Linked DNA regions of Homo sapiens: region 1 is linked to region 2. The links are contacts of gene promoters, found by promoter capture Hi-C in human tissues and cell types (Jung and others, 2019). All regions are on one chromosome and are shown on one strand. The core of a region is centred on a gene start or on the middle of the fragment in contact, and the rest is flanking DNA. Distances in the headings are between cores, read along the strand shown.

Evidence for each region. Contacts are between HindIII fragments. The study calls those that stand out against the background at their distance.
Region 1: a contact is called between a fragment that was not itself captured here and the fragment with the promoter of TSR2 in region 2, in 1 of the 25 tissues and cell types used here (adrenal gland).

What each region holds. Positions count from the first base shown.
Region 1 is chrX:54,249,418-54,256,957 of GRCh38, forward strand. WNK3 (WNK lysine deficient protein kinase 3) reads right to left here. Exons shown (of 24, transcript NM_020922.5): 12 at 6,323-6,470; 13 at 4,542-4,658; 14 at 2,115-2,270; 15 at 1,982-2,033; 16 at 577-714; 17 at 1-217. Among named protein-coding and RNA genes, the nearest start is that of FAM120C, 70 kb to the left of the region's middle. The HindIII fragment of the contact is 4,694 bases long and covers 1-3,597 here.
Region 2 is chrX:54,435,413-54,442,388 of GRCh38, forward strand. TSR2 (TSR2 ribosome maturation factor) reads left to right here and starts at 4,992. Exons shown (of 5, transcript NM_058163.3): 1 at 4,992-5,090; 2 at 5,278-5,368. The coding sequence starts at 5,010. RefSeq lists an enhancer at 4,710-4,759. The HindIII fragment of the contact is 32,321 bases long and covers 1-6,976 here.

The sequences.
Region 1 (7,540 bases), core at 1-2,500, 190 kb before region 2:
GAACTATTAGTAACTGGTGCCATTATCTGCCTGTTATCTTCCACTTGATAAAGTATAGCTGGCTGCTTGGTTTCTACACTAGCACATTCAGAAATCTTACCATCAACCACATCCTTGTGTTCTGATTTGGAGGTGAAAAGTGCACGGTGGCATGGATTATTTTCTATAGTGAGCAATGTGTCCCGTGATATTTCCTTATTACTTGTGTTTTTTGGACCTGGAACAATAATAAAGAATGGCTAAGCACGTACTGACGAGTACAAAGCACAGACTAGTACCCTAAGTCAAAAGGAACAGGAGGACAAAGGGGCAAATGAGAACCTGTGTGAAAGTACTCTCGTAAATAAGACTCAAAACACAGAATTCAACCTGTCAAGGGAAATAATGTTTTCCTTTTTTCTCATAAATATTAAATAGGAAATGGCTTAAGTTGTATCCTAATATTAATGTCTTCAAAAAAGCTTATGAAAATTCTCATAAGCATAAAATTCCCATGGAAACCAGTTAAAGATATCATATGTATTTTGCATCCCATCCTTTGAGTCTGGACAAAGCTGGCAGAGAAGAAAAGCTTACTAGGAAGTGGATGTCGGCCAGGAACCGCAGACATGGAATGCTGAAGAGAAGGAGGAGACTGAGTCTCACGGTTTCTTATCGTCTGATTGATACAGAATCGCCACCGACCAACTGGGGATGACTGAGGAGCAGATTCATCTGCAGAAATAATTAGCAAAAAATAATATGCTAAGCTATTTTCAATTTATTTACCTTATTGACTGAAGAAGCCAGGTTAAATAAACAATTTGTCTTATATCTCCATTTCTAATAGTACTAGAATATATGTAATTGATAAGACCAGCCCTTTTAATACTGACAAAAAGTCTAAAGTACTAAGCACACAATATCTTTAGAGAAGGATTTTAGATTCTACTGAAACAAATATTGCTTGAATAGCAATTAGAAACAGGGTACTCTTTGAAAAAACTGACAGCACTTTTCTCATTAAAACCTATATCTCTTATTCTGTATCCTGATTATGATAGTGCTTATATAAATCTATACATGTATTAAAATTTACAGAAGTGTACACCAAAAGAAAATCAGTTTTACTGTATGACATTTTTTAAAATAAAGTAAAATAAACCCCTACATCTTAACTGCTACTTTGTAAATGTACTCAAATAAGTAATTCTCTTTTAAACTCTACCCAACTTTGTTAGTCAGAAACCTACTCATATCTTGGCTAACCAGAAAAATAAGATATAGGAAGGACTGCATCCTAACACAGTCAAACTAAATTTCAGGATAATGGTATCTGGTTCTATTACTCCCACACCACCTTTTGCTTCTTTACGTTCCTGTAATTTCTTCAGGGGTGCTCATTTGTCTATGGCTCTTATCCCCCTCCCAGACACTCTTTAATATACCCATGACCAGAACTGAGAAGAATGGAAAGATAAAGTCATCAGAAAAGAAAACAGGAGACCCTAGTTTTCGCTTCTGGAAGTTTATCTGGTATCTGATTTACTAAAAGTTATCAGTGACCAGCGCAAGTAGAAGCATATCATTCATCGTTAGTAGAATAAAATCAAGATACGAATGACTATTGAAATATGAGGCAAACTTAGAAAATGATGACTTTTGTTAAAAAGTTTCTATCCATCTCAAATCAGAAAAAAATAACTTACCAGTTAAGTTTCAAACAGTTATGCCATTTAAGGTCATCAGTACTGTGACTGCTTTTCTGGTAACATGACCACCCAATAACTCAAAAATAAATCAATCAGATAAAGAACCAACACTTGGGGAAAAGTCAGGGGATGGATTATTACCTTTGGGCCTTTCAAAGTGTGAGAAAACCTACACTAATAAGTTACCAAATTAATTTATTGGCTAACATCTTTCCCAATGAAGGTGTGTTAAAAGTTTTCAAATGTCTTGCTTCAAAAACCAAATGATAAATTTTACTAAATATACTTACTGCTGGTTTGAGTAGATGTAGAATTTATCTGTACTTGTTCAGATGACCCTGTCTGAATTAAAAATGAATAGATAAATTAAAAAGTTCCTGATTCATATCTGAGAAGATCTGTTTGCTAAACAATTGTTCTCACCTGGCTACTGTTGGAGTCCACAGTAATAGAATCAACTCCAGTGGCTCTTTCTGTGGCAAAGTGGACATGAAGGATCTCCTGGGCTTGACCTACAATAGCTCTCAATTCTTCTACAAATTTTTCTTTCTCACTTTCCAGCACAAAGTTATCTTCAACCTGCCCAAAAGTAAGTCTATTCATGAGAATGAATTCAGTTTCTTCAAAGTTATAATATTATATAAATAGTGACTATCACATAAAGAAAGAAAATTGGGCCAGGCACAGTGGCTCATGCCTGTAATCCCAGCACTTTGGGAGGCTGAGGTGGGTGGATCACCTGAGGTCAGGAATTTGAGACCAGCCTGACCAACATGGTGAAACCCTGTCTCTACTAAAAATACAAAATTAACTGGGTATGATGGCGGGTGCCTGTAATCCCAGCTACTTGGGAGGCTGAGGCAGGAGAATTGCTTGAGCCCAGGAGGCGGAGGTTATGGTGAGCTGAGATTGCACCATTGCACTACAGCCTGGGCAACAAGAGCAAAACTCTGTCTCAAAAAAAAAAAAAAAAAGAAAAGAAAAGAAAAAGAAAAAGAAGAATAAAATTAAAATTAAGTATCTAAATCCAAGTGTCACAATAGAATTCACAAAGACCAGCAATAAAATGCCAAAAAATACATTAAATTATTCTGAGACTACTGACATTTCTCAGATTGGCACTACCTACCAGAGAAGGAACCAGCATTTTAAAAAATATGTCATTCTATAAATTGGTTATTTGAAGAACATAACTGAGGCAATGTTTAAAACTAAGATGTCCAAACCCAAAAGCTTTTAAATCACAAACCACAAAATGAAACATCTCCAAAGAAAATAAAGAATAGCTCGGAAGGCTGGGCACGGTAGCCCAGCACTTTGGGAGGCTGAAGTGGGTGAATCACCTGAGGTCAGGAGTTCGAGACCAGCCTGGTCAACATGGCGAAATGCCATCTCTGTTAAAAATACAAAAATTAGCTGGGTGTGGTGGCGTGCGCCTGTAATCCCAGCTACTTGGGAGGCTGAGACAGGATAATCACTTGATCCCAGGAGGCGGAGGTTGCAGTGAGCCAAGATCACACCACTGCCCTCCAGCCTGGGCAATAGAGCGAGACTCTGTCTCAAAAAAAAAAAAAAAAAATAGCTCGGAAGACCACTAATTAGGTTAAACATTCCTGAAAAGAATGAAAGAAGAGACAGTTCAGAAAATATTACGTTAAACAAGAACAGAACTGATGATGAAATAATTAACTTTTAAAATGTTTAATTCTGCTTGGCTAGAAATGCATACACAAAGAAAGCTGGCAGAAACAAAAAGCATTATATGCACTCTTCCTGCCATCCTAGTCCCATCCCCATCAAAAAAGGGGAAGATGGAAAAGTAACCTAGAAAATAATAAAAAAAAATAATAAAATAAGGGGGGAAGAAATACTAACTTAAACCTAACAATTCAAAGAAAATATTAAAAACTAAATGAAACAATAACATGCAAGATGTTAGATCAGTGACTAACACATTAGAATTACAAGGGGAGGGATACCCCATTTACCTTTACATCATTCTTACACATTGTATACCTACATCGAAATATCTCATGTACCTCATAAATATATAAACTTTCTATGTAGCCACAAAAATTAAAAAAAAAAAAACAGAAAGAAAAAGAATTACCTGGGGCTTTAGCTTTTTCAAAGCCTGTTATAAAAAATAAAAATAATAAAAGGTAACTTTTTTTTGAGACAGGGTCTTGCTCTGCTGCCCAGGCTGGAATGCAGTGGCATGATCATAGCTCACTACAGCCTCAATCTCCTGGGCTCAAGCAATCCTCCTCCCTCAGCCTCCCAAAGTGCTGGGATTACAAGTGTGGCCACCACATCTGGCATTTTTTAATTTTTTGTGAAGACAAGGTCTCACTCACTACATTGCCTAGGCTGGTCTTGAACTCCTGGGCTCAAGTGATCCTCCTGCCTAGGCCTCCCAAAGTGCGGGGATTACAGGCATGAGCCACTGTGCCCAGCAAAAAATAAACTAAAAAAAAAAGAATTACCTGGGGAGCTTTACAAACTATTGATGCTTGGGCCTCACCTCCAAATATTCTGATTTAATCAAGGGACCAGGCAATACAATTGTTTTTAAAAAGCTTGTCAGGTGATTTTCACATGCAATCAGAGATAAGAGCCATTTAGCTATATTATCTCTAAATGAAACCTCTGCATATTTTCCAGTTAAATATACTGAAACCGGAGGAGATGCAGTGACTTACACTTGATGATAACCCAATTTACCTCTGTACAAAATTTTAAAACTAATCGTACTCTAAAAAACAATGGCTCAAAATAAATGGAGACAGAATTATAGGGGAAAAAAGACAGAATGCTGAAGGGAAGATAATTTGGTCTTACTGCACTTACCATATAGTCTGCAATATCCTCTGGCGCATCACCATCAACATCAAACTTGAAGGTGACCATCTTGTTGTTGTGTGTCTCCAGCTGACACTCTACCATGTTATCTCCAGAGGTTGATACCTGAGTACAAACATTTTACCGGTTTAAGAGTCAATCACTGTCTTCTTTTTGCAAATTGTGCAAGGAACATCTACACTAGTTCACGTACAATATATGTGGAAAATGGCTTAAATAGTTCAGAATGTTTTCCCTTGGTGGAATACCATCTAAACAGCCATTCTATGACTAAACTAACAGGTTCAAGTTACTCAGTAAAAAATAAGTTATAAATGTGATCCTGTGGTAAAGAAAACAATACAACTTTTATAAGAAAGCAAAAAAAGTTATAATAGTCACTAGAGCTATCTGCAATGCAAAGATTTAAATTTAATAATTCATTTCCAAAATTATCTTAATCTATAAATTGACTCTAAGCAAAAGAAGAGGCACTGCAAATGGAAATGTAACCTGGACCAATCTTTATGGACAGCAATCTAGCAACATGTATCTAGAAACTTTAAAAATCTTCATATTCTGATCCATGAATCCGTCTCCTATGGATCTAATAAGGAAATAATCAGGGATAGATACAAAGATTTATGTTCAAGGATTTTGCTGCAAAGATATACAGACAGACAAAAAGAGTAAAAGACAGCAAGTTAGAAAAAAGACAGACTGGGAAAAAGATGGAAAGAAAGAACATAAACCAAGAACATAGGGAATGTAAGTTATTTCTCTGTATAAGCAGCTATCTAATGTAGCCATTTAAAATGTCATGTTATTGAAAAATTAATGATACAGGAAGGCATACATGATATATTAGGTTTTTAAAAATGCAGGATATAAAATTATATATAGGTTTAAGCAGCCAACTAAAACATACATTATATTGGTTAGAGATACGGGCTTTAAAGTCCGATCTAGGTTCAGATCTGACATTATCACTTGCTAGTTGAGTGATCTTAGGCAACTTACTTCGCTCCTCTGATTTCATTTTTTTTTCAGATGGAGTTTTGTTCTTGTTGCCCAGGTTGGAGTGCAATGGTGTGATCTCAGTTCACCGCAACCTCCGCCTCCTGGGTTCAAGCGATTCTCCTGTCTCAGCCTCCCGAGTAGTTGGGATTACAGGCATGCACCACCATGCCTGGCTAATTTTTGTATTTTTAATAGAGACGGGGTTTTATCATATTGGTCAGGCTGGTCTCGAACTCCTGACCTCAGATGATCCACCTGCCTCGGCCTTCCAAAGTGTTGGGATTACAGGCGTGAGCCACTGCGCCCGGCTCACTCCTCTGATCTTTAGTATCTTCATTTGTAAAGATGAGTATATACTATGACCTATCATACAGGGTTATTGAAGGATTAAATGGTAAAATGCATGGATAACATTTAGGGTGCCTACCACAAAAGAACTCAATAGATTTTTGCTGCGATTACTAGTACTATTACAACCTCAATAATGTAAAACACTACATGTACATACAGGAAAAGGAGAGAAAAACAAACTAAAACATTAATAGGAGCTATCTCTGAATGGTGGTTAAAAGTAGATTTTATTTTCTTTCTTATATTTCCTAAGTTTAACAACGAACACATAATACTCACATTGGAAAGTCTGTAACGGAGAAAAGGTTAGTTTAGAGAGGGTCTCGCAATATTCTACAACTCACTTCTGCAGCACTGCCCCTCTCTGACCCTCCAGACCTCTATATGTACTCTTAACCAAACCATATTTACAAACTGACCTGAAGGACGGTAAGCTGAAATTTAGTCCCCTTCTCTGGTCGGGGACAGGAAGCTCTTCTCTGTTTGATCCGATCCTGTTTGCCATTTCCACTTGGGTTATCAGGGCTACTGACGTTTTCCTTCGTAGTTGCCACATCTTGATTCAAGCTAGTAATATTTTTAAAAAAGTAACTCATTCCAGTCTTGACAGTAAAATTCTAAGAAAAACTCCCAATTATAAAACTATAAATAATGAATTTAAGAAAAATTAATACTACAATCTTTTTAAAAGTTATGACTGCACAACTCTGTGAATATACTAAAAGCCATTAAATTACACACTTTAAATGAGTGAATTATATGGTATGTGAATTATATTTCAATAAAGCTTTCTTAAAAAGCTGAAAAATCAAGGTCACACTGTATTTATTTAGCATTTAGCAAACCATCTCACAGTGATGAGAATGAAAGAAAAATATTGCCAGTGATAGACCTCTGTGGAGCCTTTTATTATAGGGTGCTCTTGATCAGTTTTATCTTGTTTGTTTGGTTACTTTATTAATATCTTCAAACAAAACTTCTAAAACCAAAACAAATTATCACTCAAAATATACTTGTTTATGTAATGAACTCAACAGGGTAGACCAGGTATGGGAGACAAGAATAGTGTTCTGCAGGAGGCAGAACAAGATATGAAAATGAATGATGTAAAAATAGCTCAACATTATTAATTCTAATTAGTTACATTTTACAGGTCTACATCAATATTATTATGAAAGGGGAGGCTACCTTTTAGTTTATCTGCGTCAAAGGCATTTTTCAGGTTTTTCTTTAAACTCAAACATATTTCAACAAATACAAAAATTTCAATAAACACGTTTGGAATTTAAATGACAAGCTCTAAGTCTCAGACATCTTTTTGAAATAGATATCTTTCAAGTTAATTTAAGCAAGTTATTTCTCCTAAAAACTACTCATGAAGCATCTATATATAGATGTACAAGAGATAAAAATAACTCCTAAATTTTTTATGTCCATATGACGTATGACATAAATATAAGTAGTGGAAGAAGATACATTAATACTGCCCTTAAGAGTTTTTTAAATACACAGAGAAATGGCAGTAACAAGTAATCAGAGGATAAAAGGAATATAATTTTAGCCAATGGGCTATATCATTCACATTCCAAAGTTACTTAACACATCAGTTTAGGGTTTGGGACAAGATGGCAGAAACT
Region 2 (6,976 bases), core at 3,742-6,241:
ACCATGTTGCTTCCTGCCTCTGTGTATTTGCACACATTTTTCCCCTGCACAGAAGGCTCTTTCCTCCTTTCAGTAACACCTTCCACCCCCATACACACACACTCCCCCATCACCCAGCAAAATTCTACTCAAACTTTAAGAATCAGCTCACGTGTCATCTCCTCCGAGAGGCCTGCCACAGCCCCCAGGGCTGGGTCAGGGACCCTCTGCTGAACTCCCATGAGTCCCTGTGCTCCTTTCTCCCTGGGCATTGCACAGAGATAGATTTATCGTAGAACAAATCAATCTTAAGCATCAGGGCCCCACACTTGCACAGGCCACTTCCAGGTCTCTGGTTATTGAGCCTGGTCTATTTGAAGAATGTTTAAGATTTGTCGCTGTGCCAAGAGAAGTTAAAATAACCTGAAATCTTACAGCTCACATGTAAAAGAAACTAGAAATTTTCCCAAGTTTGACAAAAATCTTAAAATGTACATTACTAATAATGAGTTGTGAAATTGAAACTTTTCTAAAATACTAATAATAAAAAATTTTACTCAACTGAATTGAAATCAATTGAATTCTTTGTGTTCTCTCTAGAAAATATAAAATACTTGTCATATGAAGAGTTCTATAAACTCTTTGATATCAAAAAATGTAGAAAAATTAGTAGAGAGGTGAGTCATGTAATTAATAAGAATATTTTATTTTGGCAGGGCGTGGTGGCTCATGCCTGTAATCCCAGCACTTTGGGATGCTGAGGCAGGCGGCTCACCTGAGGTCAGGAGTTTGAGACCAGCCTGGCCAACATGGTGAAACCTTGCATCTACAAAACAAAAACAAAACAACAAAGTAATATTTTATTTTTCTGGGTTAGAAGATGTTTGTGACATTTGTCAGTTTTTAAAAATTTGTAATTTGTAAATTAGATTTCTAATTTTAAGGAAATACTTTCATCAATAAATCAACAAATAAGTAAAGTGTACAATTCAATGGCTTTTAGTATAGTTTCTTCTGATTTGCTCCTTGGCTTTCTCCTTAGCTTTCTCACTGTGTGTTCACATAGTTGTCCCTGTGTGTACACCTCTCTGGTGTCCCTCTTTGCCTGTGTCCTCATCTCCTCTTATTATTATATTTTGTTGTTTTTTGTTTTTGAGACAGGGCTTGTTCTGTCACTCATGCTGGAGTGCAGTGGTACAATCATGGCTCACGGCAGCCTCAACCTCCTGGACTCAAGTGATCCTCCCTCCTCAGTCTCCTGAGTAGCTGGGACTACAGCCATCACACTCAGCTAATTAAAAAAAAAATTTTTTTGTAGAGATGGGGGGTCTTGCTTTGTTGCCCAGGATGGTCTCGAACTCCTGGCCTCAAGTGATCTGAGCCATTGCACCGAGTTCTAATCTCCCCTTCTTTATAAGGACATCAGTCATAACGGATTAGGGCCCACCCATGCAACCTCATTTTATCTTAATTACCTTTTTAAAGGCTCTATCTCCCAATACAGTCACATTCTGAGGTACTGGGGGTTAGGGTTTCTACATATGAATTTGGGGGGTGGTGGATACAATTTAGCTCATAACAGCAACCATTACCTCGTCTAATTTTTAGAACATTTTCGACACCCCCAAAAGTAGCCCTGAAGCCATTTAGAAGTCACACTCTATTCTTTCCCCATCCAAGCCCTGGGCAACCATTCATGTATTTTCTGTCTCTATAGATTTACCTATTCTGTATATTTCATATAAATGGTATCATACAATATGTGGTCTTTTTTGACTGGTCGGTAATTATACGTCCTCTTTCGTTCCTGATTTCAGTAATTTGAGTCTTCTTTCTTTTATTTCTTCCTCAGTCTAGCTAAGGGTTTGTAAATTTTGTTGATCTTTTCAAATAACTGACTTGGCCAGTTGCATTTGCTCACACCTGTAATCCCAGCATTTTGAGAGGCGAGGCAGGTGGATCGCTTGAAACCAGGAGTTCAAGACCAGCCTGGGCAACAAAGTGAGACACCCCCTCCCAACACACACACACACACACACACACACACACACACACACACACACAACCACACACACACACACACACACACACTAGCCAGGCATGGTGGCCTATTCCTGTAGTCCCAGCTAATCAGGAGGCAGAGGCAGGAGGATCCTTTGAGCCCAGGAGTTTGAGGCTGCAGTGAGCAATGTTTGTGCCACTGCATTCCAGCCTGGGCAACAAAAAAAGACTTCATCTCTGAAAAAAAAATAACCGCCCAGGTCCGGTGGCTCACGCCTGTAATCCAAACACTTGGGAAGGCTGAGGTGGGCAGCTCACTTGAGGTCAGGAGTTCAAGACCAGCCTGGCCAACATGGTGAAACCCTGTCTCTACTAAAAATACAAAAATTAACGGGGCATGGTGGCATATGCCTGTAATCCCAGCTACTCTGGAGGCTGAGGCAGGAGACTCCTTTGAACCTGGGAGGCAGAGGTTGTAGTGAGCTGAGATTGCACCACTGCACTTCAGCCTGGGTGACAGCACCAGACTCCATCTCAAAACAAACAAACAAACAAACAAAAAACAACAACTGACTTTTGGCTTCACTGTTTTTTCTTTTCTCTATTGTTTTTCAATTCTCTATTTCATTTATTTCTGTTCTATTATTTATTATTTCCTTTCTTATGCTTGCCTTGGGATTACTTTGCTCTTCTTTTTCTGGTTTTGTGAAGTGGAAGTGTAGGTTATTAATTTGATATCATTCTTTCATTTTTTATTTTTTTGAGACAGGGTCTTGCTCTGTCCCCCATGCTGGAGTGCAGTGGCACAATCACGGCTCACTGCAGCCTTGAGCTCCCAGGCTCAAGCAATCCTCCCACCTCAGCCTCCTGAGTGGCTGGTACTACACGCATATGCCACTATGCCCATCTAATTTTGTTTGTTCGTTTGTTTGTTTGAGACAGAGTCTCACTGTGTCGCCCAGGCTGGAGTGCAGTGGAGTGATCTCAGCTCACTGCAACCTCTGCCTACCGGGTTCAAGCGATTCTCGTGCTTCAGCCTCCCAAGTAGCTGGGATTACAGGTGTGTGTCACCATGCCTGGCTAACTTTTGCATTTTTAGTAGAGACAGGGTTTGTTCATATTGACCATGCTGGTCTCAAACTCCTGACCTCAGGTGATCTGCCCACCCAAAGTGCGGGAATTATAGGTGTGAGCCACCATGCCTGGCCTAGTTTTCAAATTTATTTATTTATTTAGTTTGAGACAGAGTCTCACTCTGTTTCCCAGGCTGGAGTGCAATGGCACCATCTCGGCTCACTGTAACCTCCGCCTCCCGGGTTCAAGCCATTCTCCTGCCTCAGCCTCCCAAGTAGCTGGGATTACAGGTGCTTGCCACCAGACCTGGCTAATTTTTGTATTTTTAGTAGAGACGGGGTTTCACCATCTTGGCCAGGCTGGTCTCGAACTCCTGACCTCAAGTGATCTGCCTGCCTTGGCCTCCCAAAGTGCTGTGATTACAAGCGTGAGCCACCACACCTGGCCTAATTTTTAAAATTGTTTTTAGAGATGGGGTCTCACTATGTTGCCCAGGCTGGTCTTGAACTCCTGAGCTCAAGCCATCCTCCCGCATCAACCTCCCAAAGTGCTATGATTACAGGCATGAGCCACCATGTCCGGCTCTTCTTTTTAGATATGCATGTTTACAGCTAAAGATTTCCCTCTAAGTTTTGCTTTAGCTGCATCTCATGCATTTTTTTATGTTTTTGTTTTCATTCATTTAAAAGTGTTTTCTAATTTGCTTTGTGATTTTTTTCTTTGACCCATTTATTGCTTAGGAGTGTGTTAATTTCCATATATTTGTGAATTTTGTAAGTTTCTTTTTACTGATTTTTAACTTCTTTCCATTGTGGTCAGACAACATACTTTGTATGTTCAATCCTGTTAAATCTATGGAGGCCTACTGTATGGCCTAGTGTATGATCTGTTCTGGAGAATGTTCTTGTGTACTTCAGAAAAACATGTACAGTTATCCCTGGGTATCCGTGGGAGACTGGTTCCACGACCTCCGGAGGATACCAAAATTCATAGATGCTCAAGTCCCTGATATAAAATGGCATAGTATTTGCGTATAACCTATGAATATTCTACTGTATACTTTAAATCATTTCCAGATGTGACTCACGCCTATAATCCCAGCAATTTGGGAGGCTGAGGCAAGTGGATTAAACCCAGGAGTTCGAGACCAGCCTGGGCAACATGGCGAAACCCTGTCTCTACTAAAAACACAAAAATTAGCTGGGAGTGGTGGTGGGCACCTGTAATCTCAGGTACTCGGGAGGCTGAGGCACGAGAATTGCTTGAAACCAGGAGACGGAGGTTGCAGTCAGCCGAGATGGCGCCACTGCACTCCAGCCTGGGCCACAGAGTGACACTCGGTCTCAAAAAAATAGATAAATAAATAATTTCCAGGTTACTTATAATGCCTAATAAAGTGTAAATGCTATGTATATAGCTGTTATACTGTACTGTTTAGGAGAATAATGTCAAGAAAAAAAGTATACACATGTTCAATGCAGATGCAATTTTTTCCTGAATATTTTCCATCTGAGGTTAGTTGAATTCACGGACGTGGACTGCCCCCCATAGGGAGAGCTGATTGTATTTTACTGTTGTTGGTTGCAGTATTCTATACAGATGTTAGGATGCTTTTTTTAAATGCAGATTTTTAAGGCTATACTCACTGAGTCCTCTGCCCCAGGGCCTGGAATCTGTATCTGTAATAAGTTCCCCACATATTTCCTCCGCAGTACCCACGGATCCGGAAACCATGGCCCCACACGTCCTTCAGGTCTGGTGTCCTTTGATTTAAGTGAGTAACTCTGGTGGTGTCATCGATCGCTCTGACAGATTTTTCTTTTGCTCTAGTCTTGCTGCCAGGTCTGCGGAAAAGAGAATCCTGTGTTCTCAGGCTCGGCTTGCGTCTCGTTCTGCCTGGGCCGAGCTACAGAGGGATTGGGCCGCCGGGACGTCACGTGGACTGGGGCCGGATAATGGCGGGCGCTGCAGAAGATGCGCGAGCTCTTTTCCGGGCTGGGGTCTGCGCGGCCCTGGAGGCCTGGCCGGCCTTGCAGGTCAGTGGGGCCAGGGCCAGGGCAAGGTCAAGGTTAGGGCCCGGGGCAGAACAGGAGTTGGTTGGGCTAGGTGCCTGAGGCTTGGCTAGGCGGCATAAGAGGAGTTGGCTGGGCGGCGTAAGCGGCCTCCAGGCTACTCCAGGTCTGCTCCCAAGCTGACTTGGTGGGCTTGGACCTGTGTTTACAGATCGCTGTGGAGAATGGCTTCGGGGGTGTGCACAGCCAGGAGAAGGCCAAGTGGCTGGGGGGTGCAGTGGAGGATTACTTCATGCGCAATGGTGAGTGAATGTGAGGCGCCGCGACCCGCCTGTGTGGGGGTGTGGAGAGGAGGAGCCCCATCCCGCAGAGCCTGCATTTCCTCTCGAGCAGTTGTGGATTGGTACCTAAAGGTGAGGTGGAATGAATTCAGCTTTTAGAATCAGAATCCTGGATTCCAGTGCTTTACGGGCTGTACCACTGACTCGTGGGATTACTCTGGACAAGGCAGTTTACCTCCCTGAGACTCAGTTTCCTAGTTTCTAAAATGCGTATAAAAGTATCCACCAGAGCGCTGTACAGTAGAAATATTATGCTAGTCACATATAATTTAAAATTTTTTAGTAGCCACTTTAATAAAGCAAAAAGCAGATGAAATCAATGTTAGTAAACTCGGTGTGTATGAAATATTTCAACATGTAGTCAGTATAAAACATTGAGATATTTTACATTTTTTAGTATTAAGTTTTCAAAATCTGGTATTTTACAGTTTTAGCACATTTCGATTTGGCCTAGCCATATTTCAAGTGCTCAGTAACCACCTGTGGCTGTTTGGACAGCAAAGATCTACACTGTAGGCTCGTCTTGAGGGATATACAAGAACAAGAGGCCCAGTAGAGGGCCTGTTGCATAGTATGGTTTTTAAAAAAATCTTCATTCAATTTCTAGCTTTGGAGATGACATTAGGCAGAGTCATCTCTCTCAAGAAAGTATACTATCCATTGAGGATCCACACACGTAAATAGTTACAACATTGATAGATTTTCTGATAAAGAGGAGCTCAGGGTGCATGGGGTAACAGGATGGGGAGACAGCTTCTTAGTGGAGGTGGTGAATTGGGCTGGGTCTTAGTGAGAAGGAGTTAACTAGGTGGGGGAAGCAGAGAGAGCAACACTCAAGTTCTGTGGCATGAGGGTATAATGTGTTATATTTGGAAAGTAGCAGGGAGCTCAGTATTGGAGTATGGGCGTGTGTGCGTGGGGGGTGGAGGAGTGGTAGAGAATGAAGCTGGGGTGTGGGAAGCCCCCTTGAAAAGCATAAGACATGGAAGCCCTTATGTGCCTTTGATTTTATCATTTAGGCCAGTGTTTGCCAAAATTCATGCTAACTAGTTCTGTTAGATGTTCAGTGAAGAAGCTTCTCCAGTTACCTTATGTAAGAAAAACTCTTGTTCTGCTCCCACTGAAAAGTCTTAACACTCATGAACATATTAAAGGCTTGGGTAAGAATAAGAACCACTAAAAAACCTGTTTGCTTTTGTTTCTCATTAGCTTTCTATGGATAGTGTCCCTTAAGACCCAGCAGAACAGATATTTCTCAAAGGCAAACTGTGAAACACTGCAGTGGCTGGTAAAAATTCGTGGGCAGGTTCTAGGGTGAGAAATAGGATGGGATTTGCTGGCTAGAAAGTTCAGGAAATAATCAGTATGAAGCATAACCTGGAGAGGGAAAGACTGATGAGAACGCTGTTTTTGTCTAGAAACTGATGAGGCCTGAAGTAGGACAGTGGCAACAGGCATGGAAAAGAAGGGGTGGAATAGGGCCTTGGAGATTGGTTGGCTGTAGACAGGGAGGGAAAAAGAGGCAAGTTCCTGGTTTGAGTTGATGGGTGGATTAGGTGTCTTTTCTCG